Linked DNA regions of Homo sapiens: region 2 is linked to region 1. Evidence: promoter capture Hi-C in 16 types of primary human blood cells and fetal thymus (Javierre and others, 2016). All regions are on one chromosome and are shown on one strand. Each heading gives the region's core, a stretch centred on a gene start or on the middle of the fragment in contact. The rest is flanking DNA. Distances are from core to core; before and after follow the strand shown. Region 1 holds the start of ITGA6-AS1 (ITGA6 and PDK1 antisense RNA 1). Region 2 overlaps LOC107985960 (a long non-coding RNA gene).

Region 1 (7,409 bases), core at 4,865-7,364:
CTGATTTAACGCGGGTATGGCTTGGGAGCTTAGAGAAGATTGAGGCTTGGATAAAGGTGAACAATAGAAGAAAAAAGAAAGGCAATGAGAAAAGCCAAGGAAAGCAAGAGTCATGGTCCAAATGTGAAGTACACAAAGCAATTGATAGAATGTAAGAATAGCAAGTCTGTTTGACCTTAATGCTAGGAACAGTTTCTTTTGAGGCTGAGGGCTTCTGATACTGCTCCCAGACAGAAAAAGGAAAATCAGAATACAGTTTGGTTCAGCACTGAGTAATACTTATTTGGCTATGTAAAAGAATAGATGACTGAATTGTGGTTAAAAGTCAAAATGTAAGTGGTAATAGGTCCTGTAAGTGTAAAGGTGTAGCTGGTAGATAGCAAGACATGGAGAAACTAAGAGGAAAGTTTGGAAGGAAGAATCCAAATGCTCATAGCTTTGTCTCACTAACTAGGGAATCAAGATTTCTGTCAAAAGTTGAAGGGAAAATAGAGGTTTAAATCTTTAAAACTCAGAGTAGCAAATAGAGGAACTAAATCTAGTTATTAAACATAGGATGGGAGGTGGCAGTTTGTTCTTTCCTTTTCATATTATGGGGCCAACAGTTATTGCCTAAAGCTGATAAATCAATACATATATAATAATCCAGAATTATGGAGAAGTAAATCCAGAATGAAAAGTAAGAGGTTTGTCCGGAGTGTGGGGCTTGGGATGAGTTTGGAATCTGTTGCTTTCTACCGTTAAGTCTTTTATTTTTTGATTTCCTATCATTTGTACTTATTACTTTAGCAAAAATTAAATTCTGAGTTTGAAAATGGGTTAAATGTAAAGGTGACACAATTGCCACATAATGCTACTTTCTAACTTTTTAGGTCTTAATTTGGACAAACTAAGCAGGCTGTGTTTTAAATTAAGCAATAATAGTGTTCTTGTTCTAATGGTGCAATATTTCATGTTTCCTCTGACCAGCTTGCATAGCTAGGGGCAGAATCTTTAATCCTTGAGGAAATGAATTATTGCCAAAGACAGTGAAGCAAAGCTGCCATTGTTCTTGGAGTTTTAAAAGTGTCCCAGTGTTTAGAACTTTTGATTTGAAGTATTTATGCAAAAGTATACCAGCTCTCTTTGGGGGAGAACTTGAATATATGAAACGGATGTGGCTTACTTGAAGAATTTTGAAATAACCTTGTGTTCATAGCATGATAGTGAGTCCTGAGTCTCTGTGCCCAGAGCTCTGATTAGACTCCAAAGACCTGAATTTATATCATATTCCCAGTTACTGTTATACTTATATCGTTAGATTTTTACATTCCATTTTAGTATCTCAGTGTTTATTTCTTATCGTTAAAGATGATTTTGTGGTTTTGAGTTTTGCCTTTTAAGTGTGGGTTTCTGATATGCTGAAATCCCAAGGCAGTTTTTATTTCGGTGCAGCTTTAAAATTCAGTGGAGGTCATTGTCCACTGGCCGGTTTTGAAATGATCTTAGTTCACACCCAGATTCTTGCCCTTTGTTTAGTTTTTCTTGCCTTGACCGCATATGGGAATAGACCTCTCAGGCTCTGCTCTGTTAATTTCTATCACCTCCCTACAAAGGCCCTAACTCATATCCCTTGGTCCCTGTGGCTCTGAAGGTCGAGTTGTCACATAGCTCTTTCCTCCTTCAAACGTACTGGGATGGTCAGTAATGAGTGCTGCAGCTGCCCTGGTCCTAGGAGTTGCTGTGAGCATCCTGGTAGTGCCCAGAGAGTACCTGCTTTTCACACTGAACCATCTGGGTGGCCTGGGCCCAGTTTTTGGCATTTAAGGGCCTTGGAGGGAAAGGGAAGAAAGCTGGAATTTGAGCATAAATTGGATTTTGTGTGGGCTGAGGGTCCTCCTAGGTGTAGACTGTCCCTCCTGGACCTGTACCCACTCTGCTAGCTCAGGAGCCAACCATGTCCTGAACAGCTTAGACCAGCACCCAGACCCTAAATGACCTAGATTAGGAAGTAGATAGGTTGTTCTCTGCTGTCATTGTTTGGACACAGCTCTATTTACCTTATTTATTGTTCCTGCTAGGCACAGCCTCAGCTAATGGGCTGTGATCTCCTGCCTTTAAGGCTGGTTCCAGGCGAATTAAGAGCCTTTGCTTGTTTCCCAAACCAGGGAGGGCAGCTTTACCTTGAGGATGAAGGCGCCTCCAGTTGCTGAATGTGGTTGGGGTTACTGTGTTCTCTCATCAAGGTGTAGCTTTACCTTACCTTTCGGTGATGGGTTCTGCCACCTTATCGCGGTGGGTCCCAGGAGACCGGGCGCAACTGGAGCAGGGGCGCCCTCTGCTGCTGGGTGTCAGCTCTTCCTCCCACGGCTGCCCAGGGGATTTGCAAGGGGCGGTGGAACACTCCTGCTTCCTCCATCCCCTGTGGGACCACCTGAGGTGGAGGAAGGACAGTGCCAGGACCATGTGCAGGCTGAGCTCGCCCAGAGGCGGTGCAACAGCTAACGTTATTCTCTGTGGGTACATTTCTCTTGTCGTTTGCAGGTCTCTTTTCGAATCTGTTGTCCTTTTTCCCCAAACCAGCCTGCTGCCCCCATCCTGCCATGTGGTCTGCTGTCATCTGCAGTAGCCGCCGCATGTAAGACACGAGGACCTCTTCTGCAAGAGCTTGGTGTGGGCATTTGTGAAATTTTGTCACCACAGCCCCTGTAACCAGCCAACAAATTCGAGTTAAATGCCTATTCTTTGTCCCACACGTATTAGTTACAGAGAGTGGAGAACAAGTGGCAGATAGAGGCTGAGGGAAGCCAACCCACTCTGAGGGACTGGGCATGTAAATGGGACAACCTCCACAGCTTTTTAAACCACAGGACACCCAAAAGCAGCTGTACCCTGCAGGACACAGCAGGCTACAGAAGCCTGGGGTTCAGAGGGTCTCTGACCCTTCGTCCTTTAGCGCTGCTGACCAGGCTGCTGATCCTCGACCCCTTCTTGTCACCCATTGTGTCCCTCTTCTCCCTTTTCTCTGGCTCCTTCCCTTGCAGCCTTTGCATATGCTGTGTTCCTTACCTGGCCACCTCCAGTCCCGCTGTCATCTCTTAGTGACATCCTCCCTTCCTCTCCAGCAGGTGCTGGTGCCCACAGCACTCTGTACCATCCTCTCATTGCCTCTAGCTCCCTGTGGTTTCATGACCTCATGACCTGTTCACGGATCAGGCTTCCCCAGGCCAGAGATTGAGGAGTGGGGGCAATTCCTTATTCATCCTAGGAGGCTCTTAATCAGCGTTTGTTGAGTGAATAGGTGAACGAATGTGGGAATGGGATAAACAGGAAATAAGCCCTGTGCCTGCCTTAGGTAACTTAGTAGCCACCTTGGGTGTGGGTGAGAAGAGGAAGTGGTTAGGAAGACACACAGTTAAGACAATGGGACTCCTGTGCTGCTTTTTCTAGGCTTCTCTTTGCTGGTGGTTACCTTTACAGGAAATCTCTTACCCAGCCTTCACTCCACCCAACTGCAATAATGCTTTTCTTCCTTCCCCTCTACTTGGCTCTATTATCTTAACTTTTATCAGCATACAGAACAGTTTTGGTTGTGATGTTTTATTTGTGTAAGTTTTGCCCTTTCAACTAGGTTGTAAACTTGAAATCCTGGGTTTTACTTCCTAAGCAGCTTTGTAAAGAAATGGAGACAACATTGCACCAAGATAATTTTTGTCATGGCCACCCACTAGCTGTGAGATCTTGGGGGATGAGTAATTAAGCTCCTCAAGGCCTCTGTTTCTTTATCTGTAAAACTGGAGGACTGGTCTCTCTCAGGGGCTTCCAGTGTGAAAGTCCTGGGGTTCTGGGCCTCTGATCCTGGCACCCCACTTATCCCTTCCAGCACCCTCCACATGACTCCACCTCTGACATCTGCCAAGTACAGTAATTTAACACATTCACCTTATAGTCTAGGCAGTTCACCTCCCAGGTACTTGTTTGTTGGCATTCCTGGGATCGGGGACATCACTGGAATAGGAGTGGAGCAGACCTGTGGGGACCCTTGTGGCCCCGGCCTTGCCTCTGTCCTCTGTCAAGAAGGTTCAGGCACCAAGGACACTGCTCCAGTTCCTAATTTAAAAGTCTGTGTGTCAGTTCTGTACCTTGGTGTGTGCTGTTTTGTTCCTTCAAATGTAGGGTGGGTTTGGAGGTGGGGGCTGACTGTGACTGTCCAGGGATCTGGGAGGAAGGACAGTGCTGGGGCTATGTGTTATCCATGAGCCACCCCTCCTTCTCTGTCTGGGCATCATCTGGCCCCCCTCCCTGCTTTCCAGGTACACTTGCCTCCGGTGGCACCTGCTGCATGATATTGGTTTAAAAAAAATATGTTGAATCCTTTATTGGAATGATTCCTTTATTGGGACCCAACAGGCATGAAGGTAATAGAGACTATTTGGTTTGTATTTTCATTTGTTTTGCTTTTGCTTCTGAGATTTGTGGGTTTCTTGATGGCCAGGAGTGGCTTGTTTTCTGTTGTAAGAATTTGTTGTTTGTACAGGTTCGTGTTCCCAGTCCTTTTCCTCAGCTCCAGCCTTGTTTCCAAAACTCTCAGCTCTTGGTTTATCTCTGTCCAGTCAGGTGTGTGTTCTTTGTCTTTGTTTCTTGTCCTAGTTGTTCCATGAGTCAGCCAGGCCTCAAAGATTGTAAACCTGATGGTGAGTAAAGGTGTTAGCAAAAGAGACCTAGCAACAAGGTCATTGGATCTCTAAAGAGCCTGTCAAGCTGTGAGATGGTGAAATTTTAAGGACTGTGGATTTGGACTGGGGGCCTCCTTATAGGAGATAAAAACACTCGGCTGGGGAGAAGAAGGAATATTACAGTGCCTAGTACATAAGTGGAGCTACACCAGTTGTCCCTGAATCCTTTGTGGGAGACTGATAGGATGAGAGAGGACGAACTCTTGTAATGTGACAAAAGTGCAAGGAAGTAAGAACTGACTTGGAAGAACAAACATCAACTTGTACACCTCAAATATATCTGCTTTTTATTTGTCCATTCTACCCTAATAAAACTGGAGGGAAAAAAAAAAAAGAATTGGAAAGAGGCCAAGGCTGCAAGTGAATAATTCAGTCGAGTTGTATCTTACTTACCATTAGGTTCTCTCAATTAGTATATAAACTGAAAATCTAAGATATAGTCAGAATTACCCTTGAAAACTACCTCAGGAAGGCACAGTGTTAGAAACTGACATATTATTGCTTATTACATTTAGTGTGGCCATTTTTTCCTTCCATTGTCACAAGTATTTGGTTTCTTCTCTTGAGTTTCATATGATATCCCTGGCATCATAGGGGCTTAGAGGTTGTATTCTTTGAAGAGGGTGTCTTTTAAACACCAGATCATACCCAGCAAGAAATGCTGATACTATGAGAGACAGGCCTATTTTCCTCGTTTTGGTATCCCCTCTTTGGCTTCCCCTGTTTAGTTGTGTTTGTGCGTTTTGCATGAACCAGCCATAGGACTCTACATTTGTTCTCACTCACTGCCTAAGCTGTTGAAGAATTAGTGGACTCCTAGACAAAGAATAATCCCACTATCTCCTAGTTCTGACTGATTTAACTGTTAAACGTATATTAAATTCAAATCTCCAAATTGTCTCTGTTTCATCAACAGGTTGCTCGTGGGGGCCCCGCGGGCAGAAGCGCTTCCACTGCAGAGAGCCAACAGAACGGGAGGGCTGTACAGCTGCGACATCACCGCCCGGGGGCCATGCACGCGGATCGAGTTTGATAACGATGGTGCGTTCCTTTCCCTCACTCAGCGTTCACTCCGGCAGCTTGCCTGTACTGTTTCCATGAGGGAGGAGAGTGGGGACAAACATTTATTCTTGTAGAGAGGACTTCTTTTAATTGCATCAGACTTGACTGTTTTTTATTTGCCCTGAAAATATTTACTTACTTTACTTCTGAATCATACTGGGATGCCGCGTGTTTTGCTGCTCCTCCTAACCGTGGTTTCTAAACCGATATGGTGTAGGGATGTTGCCACCTAGTGATGTGTTGAGGTTCTGCAGGAGGTTGTGGAAAAACTCATTTCATAGCAATGAAGAGAATGAATGAGCGTATCTTGTATTCATCAGCCAAAAGTTCTCACATGCTGTTAAAATATTTGGGAGAAAGACAGTTTTAAATATCAGACCCCTTTGGAATGAGAGCTGGCTAACAGAGATAAAGTTTTCCCTCCTGTCTCAGATAGAGACTTGTTTTGTTAAGGGCTCTGGATAGGTAGAAGATACCATGAGGTAGGCATGTTGACATCCAGTGTACCTGGCTTCTTGTAGGTTGAGCAGAGCAATTAGTGTACTGAGAAGCTCTAGCCAAACCTCGTTTGATATGTTCGGTCTAAGTAGATTTGCAGATTCGTGTCTATGTTCTTCTCTTGCTTCTTCATCTTTTAGAAATAACATTTGTTGGCCAGGCGTCGGTGGCTCACACCTGTAATCCTAGCATTTTGGGAGGCCGAGTTGGGTGGATCATTTGAGGTCAGGAGTTCAAGACCAGCCTGGCCAACATGGTGAAACCCCATCTCTACTAAAAATACAAAAATTAGCCAGGCGTGGTGGTGTACGCCTGTAGTCCTAGCTACTTAGGAGGCTGAGGCGTGAGAATTGTTTGAACCTGGGAGGCAGAGGCTGCAGTGAGCCAAAATCGTGCCACTACACTCCAGCCTGGGTGACAGAGCAAGATACCATCTCAAGAAAAGAAATAACATGTGTTCTTTTATTAGAAACTAATATGTGTTAATTTTAAGAAGCTGGTAAAATACACAGACCTATGAAGAATAAAAAAACCCACTGGCAATCTCAGTATCTAGACTTATTTTTTAACATTTTGGCATTTTTCCTTCTGTCTAAAGTTGTTTAATGTTTTTGTAATGATTCAAGATTAAAACCTGTGTCTGTATTGCTACTTATGGAGGAGTGCAAAATTTGGATATAGGTCACACAGTGGGTTTAAATTGATACTGAAATGAGCACCTGGTGGTGTTTGTGGTCCCCGTCTCTCTGACTAACAGTAACTCTCCTGTTTGGCATTGATACATTGTCAGCTACAAGATCCTAAAGTAAATCTGAGTCTTTTTCTTCCATCTCCAGTAAAGAAGAGAACATTTAATGCTGTTAAATAAAAAAATTGGGGAGTATATAGAGAAGTACCCATTTTTTTTGTTAGTTTGGATGGTAGCTGCAGTTTGGAATACTAGATTTTACATTGTTGCCTTAAGAGATGTATTTTGGAGGGCTCCCTTAGTCTTACAGTTTCACTTACCTTCTGCATTCAGGACCCTAGGTATCAAGAGAGGGCAAAGGGTATTGTTGGACAAAATAGGCAACTATATAGAGCTAAGTACTTTATGTTTCAAATGTTTGAAAGATTCCAAAAACCACATCTCTG
Region 2 (7,409 bases), core at 2,274-4,773, 130 kb before region 1:
CCAAGACCACTCTTTAAAGGAAGCCTATTCATCTGACAGGGCCGTTTTACAACCAACCTACCACCACAATCCAGGGGTGTGTGTGTGTGTGTGTGTGTGAGCTTTCATCTAAACACAGGGCGGGTTGGTTAATCTTTGAAATCCCAATTAGGAGCCTATCTTCCAGGGCATGGTGAATACATTTGCAGGGCTCTGCTTGGAGTCCACTCTCCAGACATGGCTGAAGACCACCACTTGAATCTTCACATGGTCTGTTAATTAGCATAAGAGATTTTCATGGACAAAATGTGGGTTGGCTACAGATATTGTAAAGGTAAAGGCACCTCTCGCCCTGCATTAATGTGGTATTAGAATGAGATGGCCAGCTTAACCCCCTTTGCAGCGGTGTTGTGGAAGGGGCCTTAGTTGTGTTCTGTGCCCCAACAGATAGCAGAGGATTCAGTCACTAATGCCACTGGAATTTGAACTGACTCTGCTGCTGGAGCTTATATGTTTTTGTGCCTGCTTATTCATAAATGTTGGTATGTGTGGCAGAATTCTGAATGAAATCTGCCTTCATTTTCACACACCTCACAGTGAGGTCATTGGGGAGGGGAACTGTGGCTTTTATAGACCTCTAGCTATTGAAGATGGCCATTATCTGCCAAAAATGAACCTGACAGATGTGAATAGCCAAATTGACTTAGGTCAGTTGTCAGCAGCCTGGCCACCATGTTTGGATGGGCAACTGTCCCACAGTTGTGATTACTTAGAGCAGAAGGGGATATTGGTCTAAGCAGTGGCAATGGGTTCCTTCTCCTGCCAGTTTGGAATTCAGGCTGAGAAATAGGAGTCTCAGGCACTACTTACTGCTGAAGTGGAGGGAATGTAAGCCCACGAGTGATGAGGAGGACATGTGGGTGGCCAGGGAAGAAAGATGGTCTGCCGAGAGAAAAAGAGGGAGTGCACATGCAGGCAGGGATAGAGACCACGGGGCCCCACCAAGAGGGAGGGTGTGAGGGGCGGGAGTGAGGCTGCAGGGAGCTCCCGTGGCTCCTGCTGGCTTTCTGGTTCTAGGTTTTCAGCTCCTTGGGATCATCTGACTGGTCTTCCTGCCCTGAGGTTCCAGGATACACTCCTCTATCCTACAATAAATGACTCCCTGTTATTGATTAAGTCAGTTGTGCCCATCTGAACTCATTCAGGTGACCCTAATGAAGGCAGCACTAAGATCAGAGAGCAGAGGTCACTTGGGGCCAGTTTTGTCAGGTTTAAAGAAGTAAAGACTCTGAAGGTACACAACATAGTCAGCATCCAAGGTAGAAAACATGCACACCTATGGCTTGCTTCATGGGAGAATAAATTAGTGGAAATATGTTTACTAAAGAGAGTAGTTTTGATTATGTATTATATTAGAGTACATAGTTAAGTCATCTACTATGTAAGGTCCCAGCTTTCTTTTCTCTTGATGTAATTAGCTATTAGGTTTATGTTAAGCCTTATTGCTGTTTTGTTTTGCTTTTTAAATCCATCAGCATTTAAAGAAAAGAAAAAGCTGGGCTATAATGGAGAGAACACGAAAGATTAGGCTGTGTTGAGAACACCAGATTCTTACTAAACACCTACTCTGGGCAGCCTGGTATAGTGGAAAGCACTAATTCTGAGCTGAGAGGCCCACGTCAAGTTTTGGTTTAGTCTCTTCCTCAGAGTTCTCAGGCAAATAATTTCATCTTGTTTGGGCTTTTCTAGATTGTCTGTAAAACAAAGGGGCTGGAGTAGATATACTTTAAGATCTCCTGTAGCTCCTAAGGGCTATGATGTAGGATGTGCTGGGCATTATGCTATATTCAGTGGCCAACAGAAAAATGGGGACAATCCCAGGCCCTCATGGAGGTCAATGTTCAGCAGGTAAAATATGCATACAACCTTATTTAGTTTACAAAGAGGCAAAACACTACAGGAAAACATTTAACTTCCTCCAATAATTGTTGACTTAAAATACAAACTTAAATACCTTTGAAATTGGATGCTGAGAGGTTGATCATCTAAGTAAAGAAAGATCATCTAAAATAAAGGTAAGGCAAGGGCCCAAGAATACCTCCTCTTCACAGTTAGGGACCTTAGTTTTCCTTCTTTCTGTATTCCTAAAAATAAATAACCAGATAGAACTCTTTTACTTCCCCCCACCCCAAATCACCACATTTAACTTTTCAAATGGGAGAATCAGCCATTTAATGGAAAATCTGAATTTCGCATGGAGGATGAAACATAATAAAGGGAGAATTAAATCACAAGGCACCGAACAAGTATCTTCTGCCCCCTTACAGAGACTAGGCCCCTTTTTTGTAGAATTCATTTGAAAAATGGGGTAATGTGTGCCTACCCCACTTGCTTATTATCATGAACATTATCTTTAACACAATAGGCAATTTAATTCTGTTAATGATAATTTAATAATTTACAAAAAAAAATTTAATGCACAGGAGCCCTCCTTTATCCCCAATTTTTACATGAAGAAATGAGGCCCAGGGAGGTGAATCAGTTAACGTAAGGCCACACATTTGGTGCCTGGCAGATCCAAGGTTAGAACCATCCGCCTATATAAGCCCAGAAAATCCAGTGGACTCCATGGACTACAGGCAAGCAGATTTCTGGAGAGCACGTGTGAAATCTACATAGTGGGACAAAGCTTATGATTAAACATGGCAGACCTAAGCTTCTGCCTTCCAAAACCCCAACTAAAAATTCTAGTAGAGGAATAAAAAGGTACTAGTGCACAAAACCAGATACCAACTAAAAATTCTAGTAGAGGAATAAAAGGGTACCAGTGCACAAAACCAGATACCCTGGAAGAGGAGCTACACAGATTTTGAATTGGCTCCATGGTGTAGACAGATGGAAAGCAGGTGGAGGGGTGGTGATTGGTTTAGTCTTCAGAGGGCATTCCAAGGAGGAGTGTGCCATACCCACCCCTTTTCCTCCCAGCAGAACCTCAGAAAGGTTGAGGTTCTGGGGCACCAAGTGCTGCAGGAGGCAGGAAGGAGTTTGGCAACTGAATGCAGGGGGCTGCTTAGAAGTCTGGAATTAGATCCCTAAGTGTTCTCCCCGACTGGGCAACCACACAATTCCTCTCCCTCCCCTTCCTCTGCCACCTGCTTGCATAAGGCTGGAAGTTTTTCTCTAGAGATGTGGAACCAAAAAGGCTATGAACATAGCCACATTAGCACAGAGGAGGGCAGGAGTGAGGTTTGGAGCTGGTACTGGGGGAAAGTGAAAGTCAGCACTGACAATGATTGAATGGAGATGATGACCCCAGCTAGCCCCTGCCTCTTTCGCAGCCAGGCAGGCATCCTCTCCAGCCAGAGAGCAGGGATTCTGTCTGCCATGGGGGAACTGAGCTGCAGACAGAAGACCGACTAAAGTCCATTTGGGGCCCTACTCTGAAAAGGCTGCCTCAGTATTAGGTTTCTGTCAGTGAAATTCACCAGCTCACAAGCCTGCCCACGTGTCTCAAAGCAAACCCATGAATCAGAGTTTTGGATCTTCGTCTTCAATAAGAATGGGCATGCGAGGGCCACCTGATTCTGGAGGAAAGACTTCAACATAAAAGAGATCAAAATCATTCAAATGGGAAAAAATACTTAGGAGAAACAAACAATGAAAGGGAACAGAAGTAACCTTTATAAACATACAAAAACTTATTTGATATTGGTAGGGAGATAAGAGAGGGTGCTGTACCCGTGAATCCAGAACAGGATGCTTTAATTCAGAAATCATCAAAGGACAAGAAAGAAAGGTCTTAAAAGCCCTAAAAAAAAAAACACACACACACACACACACAACAACAACAACAACAAACTCCCAGAAAAATGAACAAATGAACAAAAAAACATGGACAACAGGGAAGACATGATAAGAAAATGAAAGGATTGGTCCTGGAGGGCTAACATTCACCTAAGAGGAATTCCAGAAAGACAAAATAAAGAAAATGAAAGTGAAAGAATGGGCAAAGAAATATTACCAGAATATTTCCTGTGGATTTGAAAAGATCCATGCCAGCTTATACCACTTTGGAATTTCAGAAACCGTGAATGAAGAGAAGACCGTAAACATTTCCCTAGACGGATAAAACAGGTTCTGTTCAGAGGAACAGAAAGTAGAAGGGCACAGGATTTCTCAGTAGCAACCCTGCACACCAGAAGGCAAAGGAAGTAAAATGATAGTGCACTCCTGTCCTCAGCATTGAGCAATTATCTAATAATGGAAACACAGAGGATAGATTTAACCAAAAATTATAATTTATCTATATCGAGAGAATAGAGGGAGGCAAAATATGGAGGAAAGTGTAAGAAAGAGTCTCCTAGCCTAATGGGAAGCTTATTGATGTCCCTACTGGATAACTCAATAGCAGCACAAGCATTTTATTTAGAAATTTGAAGGAGAATATAAGAAACAGCTGAAAGGGGACAGGTCAGGGGAGGAAAGCAGGAGACTGGCTTTGTCTGTTCCATGATAAGACTTGGACTTTCTAAATCACTTGCATGGACTACATGATAAGATCCCTGTAAGGACTTTGAAGAAAAGATTCCTTTTTTAAATTCCCTGATCTGATTGCTTCGACTTCTTGGAGGACGCAGACTGACCCTCGCTGTCTTACAACCTCTTCATTAATAGGGGATCTGGGTTCCCCTCTCTTGGGGGTATAGGACTTGTCTCTTGGAACAATGAGAAAAATAAGACTCCGCTGGGGCTTTATGCCTACGCTTACACAGGCAGATAAAATACATGAACTTTGTTCATTGTTCTCATGGGGATATTTACAGAGTTCTTTTCCCTCTTGCTGTTTATCTTTTGGCTGGGGTTCTAAGCGGAATGGACTCAGGTGGTGAGTAACGGCTGAATCTCATTGTTCCCCTCCCTTGGTGACACACCCTGAGCCTGTAACCCAGCAGCAGCTTTCGTGCCATGTCTACTGTCCCGTGGAGTAAAGCTAGTCTTGCCTTTGATGTCCTACTGGTTGTAAGGATTTTTTTTCTTTTTTTCTTTCTTTCTTTCTTTTTTTTTTTTTTTTTTTTTGAGACAGAGTCTCGCTCTGTTGCCCAGGCTGGAGTGCAGTGGTGCAATCTCGACTCACTGCAACCTCTGCTTCCTGGGTTCAAGCGATTCTCCTGCCTCAGCCTCCTGAGTAGCTGGGATTACAGGTACACGCCACCAAGCCCAGCTAATTTTTGTATTTTTAGTAGAGATGGGGTTTTACCATGTTGGTCGGGCTGATCTCGAACTCCTGACCTCGTGATCCACCCACCTCTGCCTCCCAGAGTGCTGAGATTACAGGCGTGAGCTAGTGCGCCTGGCTGATTTTTTTTTTCTTGACATTAACATGAACGTGGGTTTGTAAAAATCAATGCGGGACAAATATATTATGAAGAATGAGAGCTTAGGAGTTAAATGTAATGGAAATAAATCCTTGGAAAAGTTGGAGTGAATGAGTGGGGGAAGCTAGGTTAGGCAATGAACTACTGTGGTTCTCTACTGCTGTTTTGTTTTGGTTTGTGTTTTGGATTCTAAGCTATGAGAATCTTCCAATTTAGATTTTAATAGACCTCTTAGAAGTGCTATAGCTCAAGGAAAAGAAGGATATATTCTGCCGATTCTATCTCTTTGGAGTTTGTGTTCTCAAACCTACAAGCAGTGTCTCCTTCCTGTAAATCACAAATTCCTGCAATGCCTCATAAAAGGGTCATCTTCCTTGGACCTTTTATCTGGTGGGAGCTGTGTGCACCACTGAAGGGGAGGAAAGGAGGATGCTGCCAACAGTGATCAGTGACCTTCGGGAGAAGCAGAGGCCACGGACCTCCCAGCAAAGGAGTGGCCCTCTGCCAGGACACAGGGCTCCCTGCCTTCTGCCTCGGCTTCCTTCTCCTCCCCTTGGTGCTTCCTTTCTTTTCCCATTAGGGCTTGAAGTCCATTTTCACCTGATTAAGGGAAGGAGCCCTCACAGACTGCACCTCCCAGGAATGGCCTAGGCTCCACTCCATGAGCTCCCTCCCTCTCCCTCCTCTGCCACCACCTCCTCCTCCTCCTCCTCCTCCTCCTCCTCCTGCTCTTCCTCCTGCTCCTTCTCCTCTTTTTCCTCCTCCTTTTCTCTCTCTCTCTCTCCCCCTCCCTCCCCCTCCTTTTTATAAGATCTAATAAATACATTTTTCAGTTAACTGCTGAATCCTTTAAGGAAAATAGATGTGTACCTCTATAGTTTTGTTGAGACTAGGGGAGATGGGGAATTTATATTTCCTCAACATGTTTTATTTACAATCCTCCTGGTGCTTGAGAAGAAAAACACATGAAGACTGCCCTTGGATAAGATCTGTGCTGAGTTTAATCAAGTGCACTCCAGTCTAGCTCAGCCTTAAACCAGAGTGTGTGGGAGCAGAACTTGCGGTGAAAGCCACATTTGATTAAGAACACTCATTAACATTTGAAAAGCAAATCCGTGTCTCCACTGGGCTTCTACATGTCTGATTTCAAGAAGCTTATCCAGGCCCTGACTTTCTCTTCCAGAAGACCCCTCTCATGACTGTTTCTGCATCTGCCAACAAAATTAATCGCCCTCATCTCTTGCACACTGACAGTCTAGAAGATTCTAGAAGATGCTGGGTTTTTTTTGGTGTTTACCACAAACAAAAGGCCAATGCTTTCAGCAGCTGCCCAGCCAGAGGGGTTTCGGAGTAAGTTTCAACAAATCCAAGTTGAATTACAGGCCACCTTCTCTCTCTGGGGCTGCCCAGTCTTCTTATCAGTAACCTCAGCTTCTGAGGCCAAGTAGGGTATTTTACTTGTCAAAGTAAGTTTGCTTCCTTAAGAAAAAAGGAGAAACAACGCACCACTTTCTTACCTGATGGGAAAATAAATCTTCAGTTTGCAGTTTGGGGAAAATGGTATGGTATTTACATCTTACAGAGTTTTATGTTGCATTTACAGTATTGCTTACAGAATGCAAAAATTTTCTTGTTTCTTACTTAATGCAAAGAAACCAAGGACAAGAGAAGTTCCGTCCCATTCAGTTCATACAATAGTATTTCTTAAACATAACTGGCATCAGGATTACCTGGGATGCCCAGGCATCCTGATTCCATAGGACCCCATTTAGAGAAACACTGACCCTTGTAAGTGTCACAAAATTGGAAACGGCCTTGAAGCTCCTGGGTCCCACCCTTCATTCTACAGAGGGAAGACTAGTCCAGAAACCTGAAGAGGTTCTCCCAGGCTCCTATATCCCACACAACTCCTGCTGCTCACCAGAAGCAGAATCAGGCCCAGATTTTGGTCCTGGGCCCTCTAGGTGTCCTGCCCTGCCCAGCAGCCCTGGCTGTTCTGCAACCTCATTTATTTCCTGCTCTCTTCCTCTCGCCCCTGCCCCACAGTTGCTTCCT

What was found. The method cuts DNA at HindIII sites, captures the fragments that hold promoters and counts their contacts. A CHiCAGO score of 5 or more calls a contact.
Region 2: a fragment that was not itself captured here is called in contact with the fragment with the promoter of ITGA6-AS1 in region 1 in 5 of 17 cell types (megakaryocytes, endothelial precursors, naive CD4 T cells and 2 more); the score reaches 9.5 in megakaryocytes.

The regions. Positions count from the first base shown.
Region 1 is chr2:172,459,908-172,467,316 of GRCh38, forward strand. It overlaps ITGA6-AS1 (ITGA6 and PDK1 antisense RNA 1), which reads right to left and starts at 6,115. Exons shown (of 2, transcript NR_157573.1): 1 at 5,917-6,115; 2 at 4,355-4,667. ITGA6 (integrin subunit alpha 6) reads left to right here. Exons shown (of 26, transcript NM_000210.4): 2 at 5,632-5,756. It overlaps PDK1-AS1 (PDK1 and ITGA6 antisense RNA 1), which reads right to left. Exons shown (of 4, transcript NR_199657.1): 4 at 4,359-4,667. RefSeq lists an enhancer at 6,356-6,525. The HindIII fragment of the contact is 13,641 bases long and covers 1-7,409 here.
Region 2 is chr2:172,336,420-172,343,828 of GRCh38, forward strand. The region is part of intron 4 of LOC107985960 (a long non-coding RNA gene); the gene reads left to right. Among named protein-coding and RNA genes, the nearest start is that of ITGA6, 87 kb to the right of the region's middle. The HindIII fragment of the contact is 1,660 bases long and covers 2,694-4,353 here.